3 separate regions of the Homo sapiens genome follow, and all the other regions are linked to region 3. The links are contacts of gene promoters, found by promoter capture Hi-C in blood cells and fetal thymus (Javierre and others, 2016). All regions are on one chromosome and are shown on one strand. Each heading gives the region's core, a stretch centred on a gene start or on the middle of the fragment in contact. The rest is flanking DNA. Distances are from core to core; before and after follow the strand shown.

Region 1 (3,904 bases), core at 933-3,432, 150 kb before region 3:
AGCCCTGATTGGTCAGGCCTGGGTCATGTGGTTGATTTGGAGTACGCAAGGTGGAGTTAGCTCCCCGGCCCTACTTACAATGTGGGTAGGGAAGAGCTCTTAGCAGAAGGGGGAAGGGGGAACGGGAAATGGGAAATTAGATAAGAAAGAGGGCTTTGTACCACAGAAGGATTTCTACTTTATAGATTGGCAGTAGGAGCCCACAAATGCTTTCACATGGGAAAAGACATTTTCAATGTTGGGGGTCATGAAGGTGAATAAGGCAGCCAAGAAATTGTTGCTACCTAATCATTAGGTGTCAGTTAAACATGCATAGTATCGGCTGGGCGTGGTGCTGTAATCCCAGCACTTTTGGAGGCCGAGGCAAGTGGATTGTCTGAGCTCAGGAGTTCGAGACCAGCCTGGGCAACATGGCAAAAGCCGGTCTCTACAAAAAATGCAAAAATTAGTTGGGTGTGGTGGCACTGCCTGTGGTCCCAGCTACTCGGGAGGCTGAGGTGGCAGGATTGCTTGAGCCCCGAGTTGAGGCTGCAGTGAGCTGAGATTGCACGACGGCACTCCAGTCTGAGTGAAAGAATGAGGACCGGGCGCGGTGGCTCACGCCTGTAATCCCAGCACTTTGGGAGGCCGAGGTGGGCGGATCACGAGTTCGGGAGATCGAGACCATACTGGCTAACGCGGTGAAACCCCGACTCTACTAAATATACAAAAAATTAGCCGGGCGTGGTGGCAGGTGCCTGTAGTCCCAGCTACTCGGGAGGCTGAGGCAGGAGAATGGAGTGAACCAGGGAGGCGGAGCTTGCAGTGAGCCAAGATCACGCCCCACTGGACTCCAGCCTGGGCGACAGAGCGAGACTCCGTCTCAAAAAAAAAAAAAAAAAAGAATGAGACCCCATCTCTAAAAAAAAATAAAAAATAAAATAAACATGCATAGTATCTATTAATGTAAGTTACTCGGCAATATGGACAATGAGTAAGAGGGTAAAATCTGGTTCTGTCACTTACCAGACTTTGAAGGAGTTACTTAATTTCTCTTTGCCTCAGTTTCCTCATCTGCAAAATGAGGACAGTAACAATAACTGCTCCTAGGTTTGTTGTGCAGATTAAACAAATGTATACACCGTAAGGCACTTCAAGAAGGGGTAGTCAGAGTGTTTGCTTCAGTTCCCAGGAGCTGGGAGACCTCACATCCTGGCGGAGCCTCTAGTTCTGGCTGCACAGACCTGACTAGCCTGGCCTGGCCGCAGTAGCTGGCCCTGAGTAGTGACCCGCTCGCCCGCTGCCCTCGGAAGCCTCACTTGGCTGACAAACAGGAAGGTGGCAGGGCTGCCTGCGTGCCCTTGCCGCCCCCACAGCCCTGTGTCTGGCCCCAACCCTCATCTCTACTCGCGGCTGCGGTGAACTTGGATGGTGCTACTCTCACCACAAACCACAGTCCGTCACAAATTGCCGTGTGGTGAGTAGCGAGCACATTTATAATTGATGAAATCAGGGGGTGAGAGCTCATCGCTGAGATGCTCAGTAAACAAAGACCTGGTCCTTGGGTGGGGGAGGGGGTGCTTGAGAGTAAACAAGGGGACAGGAATGTTGGGGGGCTTAACTCTCCTGGAGAGTACATGAAAGGTCTCACCCACCAGCTTTTGTTTTTATTATTAAGCTTATTTTAAAGAGTTTCAATCCTATAGAAAAGTTGCACGAATATATAGACTCACATAGATTCCTTTTTTTTTAGAGACCGGGCCTCAGTCTGTCTCCCTGGCTGGAGTGCAGTGCTGCAATCATAGCTCACTGCAGCCTCAAACTCCTGAGGTCCTCTGATCATCCCACTTCAGCCTCCCAAGAAGCTGGAAGTACAGGCGTATACCACCGTGCCCACGTAATTTTTACTTTTTTTTTTTTTTGTAGAGATGGGGTCTCACTATGTTGCCCAGGCTGGTCTCAAACTCCTGGCCTCAAGTGATCCTCCTATCTCAGCTTCCCAAAATGTTGGGATTTACAGGTGTGAGTCACTGCACCTGGCCTAATAATTATATTCTTCAGTCTTTTCTTACTAGTCTGTTCTTAGTCTCATTCTGTTTAACCATTTGTGAGTAAGCTGCAGAGATCATGAACTTCCCTGCTAAATACCTCAAGGACATTTTCTTACATACCTATAAGAATGACTAACGGCCGGGAGCGGTGACTCATGCCTGTAATCCCAGCACTTTGGGAGGCTGAGGCGGGCAGATCACGAGGTCAAGAGATCGAGACCATCCTGGCCAACATGTTGAAACCCTGTCTCTACTAAAAGTACAAAAACAAGCTGGGTGTGGTGGCACCCGCCTGTAGTCCCAGCTACTCAGGAGGCCGAAGCAGGGGAATCGCTTGAACCCGGGTGGCAGAGGTTGCAGTGAGCCGAGATCACACTATTGCACTCCAGCCTGGTGACAGAGCAAACTCCGTCAAAAAAAAAAAAAAAAAAGAATGACTAATATCAGAAAATGTAATAACACAATACTAATATAAAATCCATGTTCAAATCTCACCAATTATCCAATACAATCCTTTTTAGCAACTCTTTTTTCCCAATCAAACCTGATTAGCCTTTCAATAGTCAAGGTCCCAGGTAATTGTCACCCTTGGTCCCCCACCCCACTGGGGGCTAGAATCCCACAGTCAGGTAGGAGTGATGAAGCTGTGGTCAGATCAGAAAACAAGGCCAAGCTTAGGATAACAGCTGGAGCCAGATGTAGAATCTGGCTAAGTAAGCTCTGGGAGCCCTGGAAGCTGTTTCCAGAAGGTCCCCAGGGATGGGAGCCCAGGTGAGCAGGGAGAGAGGCATGGAAGCTCTTACTGGGATCCCAAGGGAGACAGGAGGCTCTCACACTTCTGTCACAGCAGCCAAACCCTGGGCATGGACAGGTGGGGACAGGAGAGATGTTAGGAAGATAGGGAGGAGATCATCAACATTTCAGGCACAGAAGCTGGCAGAAGAGAGACACCTTTGTCATCTGTATTATGCTAATTGGTTAGTCTGTATATTTATTTAACAAATGTCTATTGCACCCTTACTGTATGCCAAAAACTATTTTAAGTGCTGGGGATACAGACCCAGTTCCAACCTTAAGGTGTTTATGTTCTATTGGGAGATGGGATAGTTTGCACTGTTGTTGTGAAAACGGTCACCCCCCCATCCCCTCCCACTCCCCTTCACAACAGGTGTAAGAGAGTAAACTTGCCCAATCCACTGCTATTACACTTGGCCATGAGACTTCTTTGGCCACTAGAATGTTAGCGGTGTGTCATGATCACCCTTAACCGTGCTGTGAGGTTTGGCTTGGCTTTTAAGTTCCTGCCATTCTCCAAGACAAGCATGTGCCCCAGGGAGCTGCTGGTCCAAGGAGAATGGAGAGAGACATGGAGTCCACCCAAACCCAAGCCATAGCCTGGAGCTGCCCTGCTCGGGCTGACACACAGACTCACAAATGAGAAAGATCAGCACTTGTTTGGAGCCTCTGAGTATCGGGGTGGTTTGTTACACAGCATCATTTCAGCAGTAGCTGACTAAGATGGGTGGAGACAGAATATAAACAAGCCAACTAAGACATGTGTGATGTCTTAGTGATAAGAACAGGAAGACAAAGAAAGCAGGAGAAGAGGAAAAGAGTGGTCAGGGCTGTTATAGATAGGGCAGCCAGGGGAAGCCCCCTGATAAGGGAGCAGAGATCTGAAGGAAGTGGGGGAAGGAGTTATCCAGGGCAGGAATTTCTCAAGGAGGAAACAGCAAGCGCGAGGCTCCCCAGGCAGGCACAAGCTGAGCCCAGGAGCAAGCCTGTATGGCTGGAGCAGAAGGAGCCAGCAGGGATAGGGTGGAGTGATAGGAGATGGTTCAGAGAGGAGGCTGGGGCCAGATCCAGTGGAAAGG
Region 2 (3,593 bases), core at 606-3,105, 210 kb before region 3:
ACCGCCTTCTGCCCACCACTCACGGACACATTTCTGCCTAGAAAACAGCTTCTTACTGCTCTTACATGTGATGGCATATCTTACACTAAAAGAATATTATTGGGGGAAAAACTACAAGTGCTGTACATATGCTGAGAAACTGCAGAGCATAATACTGCCACCCAAAAATCTTTTTGAAAATCATTTCCAGACAACCTCTTACTTTCTGTGTAGTTTTTAATTGTTAAAAAAAAAAAGTTTTAAACAGAAGCACATGACATATGAAAGCCTGCAGGACTGGTCGTTTTTTTGGCAATTCTTCCACGTGGGACTTGTCCACAAGAATGAAAGTAGTGGTTTTTAAAGAGTTAAGTTACATATTTATTTTCTCACTTAAGTTATTTATGCAAAAGTTTTTCTTGTAGAGAATGACAATGTTAATATTGCTTTATGAATTAACAGTCTGTTCTTCCAGAGTCCAGAGACATTGTTAATAAAGACAATGAATCATGACCGAAAGGATGTGGTCTCATTTTGTCAACCACACATGACGTCATTTCTGTCAAAGTTGACACCCTTCTCTTGGTCACTAGAGCTCCAACCTTGGACACACCTTTGACTGCTCTCTGGTGGCCCTTGTGGCAATTATGTCTTCCTTTGAAAAGTCATGTTTATCCCTTCCTTTCCAAACCCAGACCGCATTTCTTCACCCAGGGCATGGTAATAACCTCAGCCTTGTATCCTTTTAGCAGCCTCCCCTCCATGCTGGCTTCCAAAATGCTGTTCTCATTGTATCACTCCCCTGCTCAAAAGCCTTCCATAGCTCCCCCTTGCCCAGGATCAAGTGCAGTTTCCCTATCTGACATGGGAGGCCTTCTCTGCTTGACTCCCACCTCCCACTCCACCAAGCTTCCTACTGACTCCAAATGGTCATGCAGATCCCTGCTTCCTTAGTTTGCCATCCACACTTAGCACCCCCAATAACTAATCCTCTTTCTTTAGGATTCACATTACTTGTCATCTCTTCCCCTAACCTTCCAGAGATGTTCCAATCTCCCATGATCCCTCTCTCCTCTGAGGTTCCAGCCCCTTTTGTCTACACCACTACTTTGGTTCCTAATTCTGTTTTCCATTTGACAGTCATTCATGGAGGACCAGCCTGGCCAAGTCCTGCTTAGTACTGGCATAGACAACACAAAGCCAAGTACAATTCAGGACCAGCTCACAGGAAACTTCATCTTCTTCGAAGTGTGGATTTGATGCCTCCTGGGTAGAAATGTAGGATCTTCAAAAGTGGGCCAGCCTCCTGCACTTCTCTCAAAGTCTCGCCTCCCCAAGGTGTCTTAATAGTGCTGGATGCTAGCTGAGTTAGCATCTTCAGATGAAGAGTAACCCTAAAGTTACTCTTCAGTTGCCCTAAGGTGGGATGGTCAACTGGAAAGCTTTAAATTAAGTCCAGCCTACCTTGGGGGAACCCACCCCCACAAAGAAAGCTGAGGTCCCTCCTGATGACTTGTCAGTTTAACTACCAATAACCCACTTGAATTAATCATCATCATCAAGTCTTTGATAGGTGTGAGTGGGTATCAGTGGCCGGTCCCTTCCTGGGGCTCCAGCCCCCGAGGAGGCCTCAGTGAGCCCCTGCAGAAAATCCATGCATCATGAGTGTCTCAGGGCCCAGAATATGAGAGCAGGTAGGAAACAGAGACATCTTCCATCCCTGAGAGGCAGTGCGGTCCAGTGGGTGGGGACACGGGCTCTGGGTCAGGTTTGTGTTGTTTGTTTGTTTGTTTTGAGACAGAGTCTCGCTCTATTGCCCAGGCTGGAGTGCAGTGTCACGATCTCGGCTTACTGCAACTTCTGCCTTCCCGGATTCAAGTGATTCTCCTGCCTCAGCCTCCAGAGTAGCTGGGATTACAGGTGCGTGCCACCACGCCTGGCTAATTTTTGTATTTTTGATAGAGACGGGGTTTCACCATGTTGGCCAGGCTAGTCTCGAACTCTTGACCTCAAGTGATCTGCCTGCCTCGGCCTCCCAAAGTGCTGGGATTACAGGCGTGAGCCACCACACCCAGCCCCAGGTTGGTGTTTGAATCTGAGGAGACTGAAGCACCAAGGGGTTAAATGTTTTGCCCACAGCCATACTTGGGCTCAGTTCCTTGCCCTACCCCTCACTTGAGCTGCTTAGAACCTGGTGGGCACATGGGCAATAACCAGGTCACACTGTTTTGTACCAAGTGTTATGGGAATCCAAGATAGGAGTAATTTGCTCTGTGGAGGGGATGAGGGATAGTGGTTAGGGAAAGCTTCACAAAGTGGGTGCTGCTTAGAGATTTTCCAGGTGGAGAAGGGGGCTTCTAGGCAGAAGGCATAGCCCAAGCAAAGACTGCAAGTGCATGGCTGCTCATGGGTAGAAGAGAATCCACCATTCCTCAACATGTACCGAGTCCTTGCCATGTGCAAGGCAACATGGGGGTACCAGGAATTCCAAGCAATGTCCAAACCTAGGGTCTGCTTTCTGGGACCTGAAGATACAGGATGGATCAGCCCAGGCTGCAATCCCATTACCACGAGGGGGAAAAAAACCTGAAGGCTAAATTGTAGGTCGGGTTAGAGGTTATTTATGGAAAGTTATATTCTACCTACATGGGGTCTATAAGCCTGGCGCCAATCAGAAAAGGAACAAACAACAGACCTAGCTGGGAGGGGCAGCATTTTGTTGTAGGGGGCGGGGCACATGTTCTGGGGGTACAGCCAGACTCAGGGCTTGTATTAATAGTCTGAGAGTAAGACAGACAGAGGGATAGAAGGAAATAGGTCCCTTTCTCTCTCTCTGTCTCTCTCTCTCTCACTCTCTCTCTCTCTCTCTCACACACACACACAGACACACACACACGCTCTGTAGGGGTCTACTTATGCTCCAAGTACAAATCAGGCCACATTTACACAAGGAGGTAAAGGAAAAGAACGTTGGAGGAGCCACAGGACCCCAAAATTCCCTGTTTTCCTTGAATCAGGCAGGACTTACGCAGCTGGGAGGGTGGAGAGCCTGCAGAAGCCACCTGCGAGTAAGCCAAGTTCAGAGTCACAGACACCAAAAGCTGGTGCCATGTCCCACACCCACCCACCTCCCACCTGCTCCTTGACACAGCCCTGTGCTCCACAACCCGGCTCCCAGATCATTGATTATAGCTCTGGGGCCTGCACCGTCCTTCCTGCCACATCCCCACCCCATTCTTGGAACCTGCCCTCTGTCTTCTCCCTTGTCCAAGGGCAGGCAAGGGCTCAGCTATTGGGCAGCTTTGACCAACAGCTGAGGCTCCTTTTGTGGCTGGAGATGCAGGAGGCAGGGGAATATTCCTCTTAGTCAATGCGACCATGTGCCTGGTTTGCCCAGGGTGGTCTCGTTTACACCTGTAGGCCAAGCGTAATTATTAACAGCTCCCACTTCTACTCTAAAAAATGACCCAATCTGGGCAGTAAATTATATGGTGCCCATGCTATTAAGAGCTGCAACTTGCTGGGCGTGGTGGCTCACACCTGTAATCCCAGTACTTTGGGACGTCAAGGCGGGTGGATCACCTGAGGTCACGAGTTAGAGACTGGCCTGGCCA
Region 3 (4,017 bases), core at 998-3,497:
AGTTTGAGACCAGCCTGACCAACATGGTGAAACTCCGTCTGTATTAAAAATACAAAAAATTAGCCAGGTATGGTGGCGGGCACCTGTAATCCCAGCTGCTCGGGAGGCTGAGGCAGGAGAATCGCTTGAACCCGGGAGGCGGAGGTTGCAGTGAGCCGAGATTGCACCTTTGCACTCCAGTGTGGGCAACAAGAGTGAAACTCTGTCTCAAAAACAAAAACAAAAAAACTCAGAACCAGAGGGGCACTGGCATCCCTAGAGAGGTCCCATCCTACTGAAGTGCCCAGTACCAACTTAAAGACCTACTGGACTCTTCTTCGTTGTCATGGAGACCACATCAAAGCTGCCTTCCAGGAAGAGCCCTCTGTCCTCCTCTCCACTTCTCTTGGCCAGAACTCACACTTGTCTCTAAACTGGTTCCATCCAGCCCAAAGCTGGGATTTGCTTGGGCTTGTTTCTCCTTCCTTGGGCAGGGTTCCTGCTAAGCTCAATTAATTTGGTCTTTATTGTACCTATTCACTACACAAGCATTTCATGCCACCCTCATAAGCATGCTAACAGGCTGAGGAGGACTTTCAGAGGCAAATGAGCTCTGGAGAGCTCTCCATAGATAAGGATGTCTATACCATGAGGCAGGATGAAAAACATCCACACCAGAGATATAGTCAAGAATGTTGTATATGGCTAAAGGAACTGATTCAGGCTATCATGGAAGGCTTCCTGGAGGAGAGGGACAATAGACATGAGCCTTATAGAATATTACAGCACCTATAGAAAGGGAAGTTTACTTCCATTTGCACAAGCAGATCTCATGGAATGAGCCCTTATGAACACTAAACAGCAATTGTATGTTTTAGCCTTAGTTCTGGCCAGACAGGCCCAAAGAGCTTACATGTGTCATTTCCTTCTCTGAAACTCCACTGCCTCATCTGTAAAGTGGCGGGTGTTAGGTTAGATGAATTTGGGAAGCCACTCCTGCTGGCCTGGCATTTGAACATTCTTTTGTGTTTATCACAAACAGGCAGGATAAAAAATCAGGCTGTCCTCAAAGGAGTGCATAGGCTGGAGACATAGAGAATTGTCTCAGCAAAAAGGCCTTTGAGGATTCATGTCCTTTGTGCCCCCATGGCCACAGCCCAAGCACCCCAGGTCCCCTCAGATGTCTGTCTTGGACATAGCTGCTTGCCTGGAACCCAGCACTGTATCTGACACGATAAATGTTTATTGAAAGAAGTGGTGAATGGATGAGATGACAGAGACTATGACCAGCTTCTTAGCTAAAACTGAAACCCATCCTGCCTCCAGATCATCAGAACCTTTGGGGCTTTTGCTCCTTTTGCTGGCTCTCAGATAAGAGGGAAGATGGCTGAGAGGGAGCTACACTTTCGGAAATCATCTACCCTGGGGCTTCTGGTTTCTGCTGCAATCAGTAGAAAGTGGGTCACAAAACAGCTCTGCAGAGAACAGACCCTTGAGGAAAAGCCTGGATTCTGTGCCAGTTTACATTTATTGATCACCTACTGTGTATCAGTTGTCACATAGCTTAACTCATTTAATCATGGCTTCAGAGGGGTGTACAGGAGAGTGTGAGGGATTTGAGGCTGTAAACCCCAGAGGTGCTGACTAGCTGAGTGACCTCAGGAGAGTTACCATCCCTCTCTGAGTTTCATTTTTAATATCTGTAAGATACAAACGATCCATTTCGCCGGGTTATGGGAACGAAATGAGCACGTGGAAGCGGAGCGCTTCATAAATGCTAGTTATTATTGTTCCTCTGGGCACACAAGCCCGGTCGCCTCCCTCCTGGGCGCACACAGACATGTTCATACTCCCACGTACACGCAGATGCAGAGACGTGTGCAGACGCCAGCCGGAGGAGCACGCGGCGCATCAGACCCAAGACCGTGGCGAGACGGTGAAGAAGCCGCGGGGTCCTCGGCTTCTCTCTTTTTCTCTCGGTTCTTTATGAATGAACTCCAGCCGCGAGTTTTATTTTTTTATGAATGGGAGCCGGAGCACTGAATGAAGCCGGGAGCCAACCCCTACATTCTGATTGGCCCCCGCGGCTGGGAAACTCCGCCCCCCGGCCAGGCCGGACGACTCTCCGGATTGGCGGGCGTGCCCAGCCCTGGGGTTCCATTCACAAAAGTCAATGAAACAAAGGGAAACGGGGGGCGGTGTGGCGGGGCGGGGGGTGGAGAGCTGAGGCCGAGCGAAGGAAATGCACCAATCAGCTGCTCCCCCGGGCTCACAACTGTCTGCTGCGCCCGAAAAACAAGTCGGTGCGCTGGGGACCCGGGGCCGGGGCCGCCTTACTCCGGCCTAGCCCCGCGGCCCTCGGTGCGGGCTCCAGGGCATGCTCGGGACCCCCCGCGGCTCCAGCCCAGACGCCCCGGCCTCAGGTGAGGCTGCGGGAGGGAAAGGGAGGGAGAGTGTCTGTGATTCCCCGCCTCGCCTCCAATGCACACCACACTCACTCTCACCACCCGCCTCCGCAGATTCCAGGGCGGGGGTGGGAGGTGCTGGGATTCAGGGTTGGAGGGGGCGCGGGAGTTGTGGGCATGCGATGGTGTGCGCTTCGCCTGCTCCTCCGCGCGCGCGCGCGTACACACACACACACACACACACACACACACACACACACACACACACGTTCTTATGTAACCGAGCCCGGGTAAAGCAGGGCTGCAGAAAGCAGAAACGGCGAGCCCGGCTCCTGGGAGCAGGTGGGACCTCCTTTGGCCTTTGGCGGGAGGGGAGTGGTGGTGGCGCTCGGCCTGGCAGGCGGAAACCTCGCCATCGCCCCAGTGAGTCGGAGAAGTTTCGCCGTCGGACCCAGAGCCTTGGGACTGCCCCCTCCCCGCCCCCATCGCAGCCCTCCCTGGACGGTGTGCGAACGCAGCCCCCTCCCCCACCAGGTCTCGGCCCCCGCTTGGGGCCCCGGCCGTGCGGCCGGAGGGAGCGGCCGGATGGAGCGGAGGATGAAAGCCGGATACTTGGACCAGCAAGTGCCCTACACCTTCAGCAGCGTGAGCGCCGCGCCGGCCTCCACGCCCGCCCCGCCCCGCACCCAGCCCCTACTCTCACCACAGCCCCCCTCCCCGCAGTCCCAGCGGAGTCCTGGGCTGCCCCGCCCCTGAGTCACCCGAGGACCCCAACCTCGTCCCCCAGACTAAGCGCCTCAGGGTGACTCGCGGGCATTCTCCCCGCTTCTCGCAGAAATCGCCCGGAAATGGGAGCTTGCGCGAAGCGCTGATCGGCCCGCTGGGGAAGCTCATGGACCCGGGCTCCCTGCCGCCCCTCGACTCTGAAGGTAAAGAGCAAGAGAGACAAACCGCGACCCTCCTCCGCCACACACACACACACACACACACACACACACACACACACACGGCCGATTCTGGAACCCCCGCCTGTTTCCCCAAAAAACTCGCCCTCCAAGGGATTTTGGTCATTCTTCTCGGTCCCTACTCCCAAGGCAGGGGAGTCACCGGGTCTTGCTAGGGCCCCTTCTCTCTTACCGTCCCCTCCACCTCACCTCCAATTCCACTATTTACCCCTCAGATCTCTTCCAGGATCTAAGTCACTTCCAGGAGACGTGGCTCGCTGAAGGTGAGTAGTTTTGTGACCTTTTCTATTTTGGGAGGCTGGACAGGGGGACACTCCGTAGCCCCTGGTATTCCACCCTAAGCCCTACACTTCTCCTCTCCCTTCCCTGCCTCAAGGAGTTCTCCAAGGCCCTCTCCCCAGGTCCCTTGCCACTCTACTCACCCCAGCACCCAGCGTGGACACTTATATTGATATTTATTTTCTCTACCCTGAGCCAGGCTTGTGTAACTAGGCTTGAGGATGAATCAGACCATTGTGTGGGGTATTTGCTTATTTGAATGGAACTTGGCCCCAGGCCCATTTTCCTGGTTGAAATTTTCATTTGTAAAGTTTGTTTTGCAGAAGCCGCCAGGCCAAGGTGCATGTTGGGGTGTTGTTGGTGGGGGGTGGGGGGAGAAATTAATTTGT

What was found. Contacts are between HindIII fragments. The CHiCAGO score rates a contact against its expected background, and 5 or more counts as called.
Region 1: a contact is called between a fragment that was not itself captured here and the fragment with the promoter of ETV4 in region 3, in 1 of 17 cell types (endothelial precursors). The highest score is 5.5, in endothelial precursors.
Region 2: a contact is called between a fragment that was not itself captured here and the fragment with the promoter of ETV4 in region 3, in 3 of 17 cell types (endothelial precursors, M2 macrophages and M1 macrophages). The highest score is 6.4, in endothelial precursors.

Annotation. Positions count from the first base shown.
Region 1 is chr17:43,698,935-43,702,838 of GRCh38, reverse strand. All of the region lies in intron 3 of LINC02594 (long intergenic non-protein coding RNA 2594), which reads right to left. Among named protein-coding and RNA genes, the nearest start is that of LINC02594, 36 kb to the right of the region's middle. RefSeq lists enhancers at 99-968, 1,086-1,245. The HindIII fragment of the contact is 1,046 bases long and covers 1,660-2,705 here.
Region 2 is chr17:43,750,637-43,754,229 of GRCh38, reverse strand. It overlaps SOST (sclerostin), which reads left to right. Exons shown (of 2, transcript NM_025237.3): 2 at 1-492. Among named protein-coding and RNA genes, the nearest start is that of SOST, 6.4 kb to the left of the region's middle. The HindIII fragment of the contact is 864 bases long and covers 1,424-2,287 here.
Region 3 is chr17:43,544,570-43,548,586 of GRCh38, reverse strand. ETV4 (ETS variant transcription factor 4) reads left to right here and starts at 2,247. Exons shown (of 13, transcript NM_001079675.5): 1 at 2,247-2,402; 2 at 2,919-3,029; 3 at 3,220-3,313; 4 at 3,565-3,612. The coding sequence starts at 2,970. It also overlaps a transcript of DHX8 not described here. RefSeq lists enhancers at 1,822-1,981, 2,103-2,880, 2,881-3,658 and silencers at 2,072-2,121, 2,142-2,281, 2,332-2,451, 2,902-2,951, 2,992-3,051. The HindIII fragment of the contact is 22,925 bases long and covers 1-4,017 here.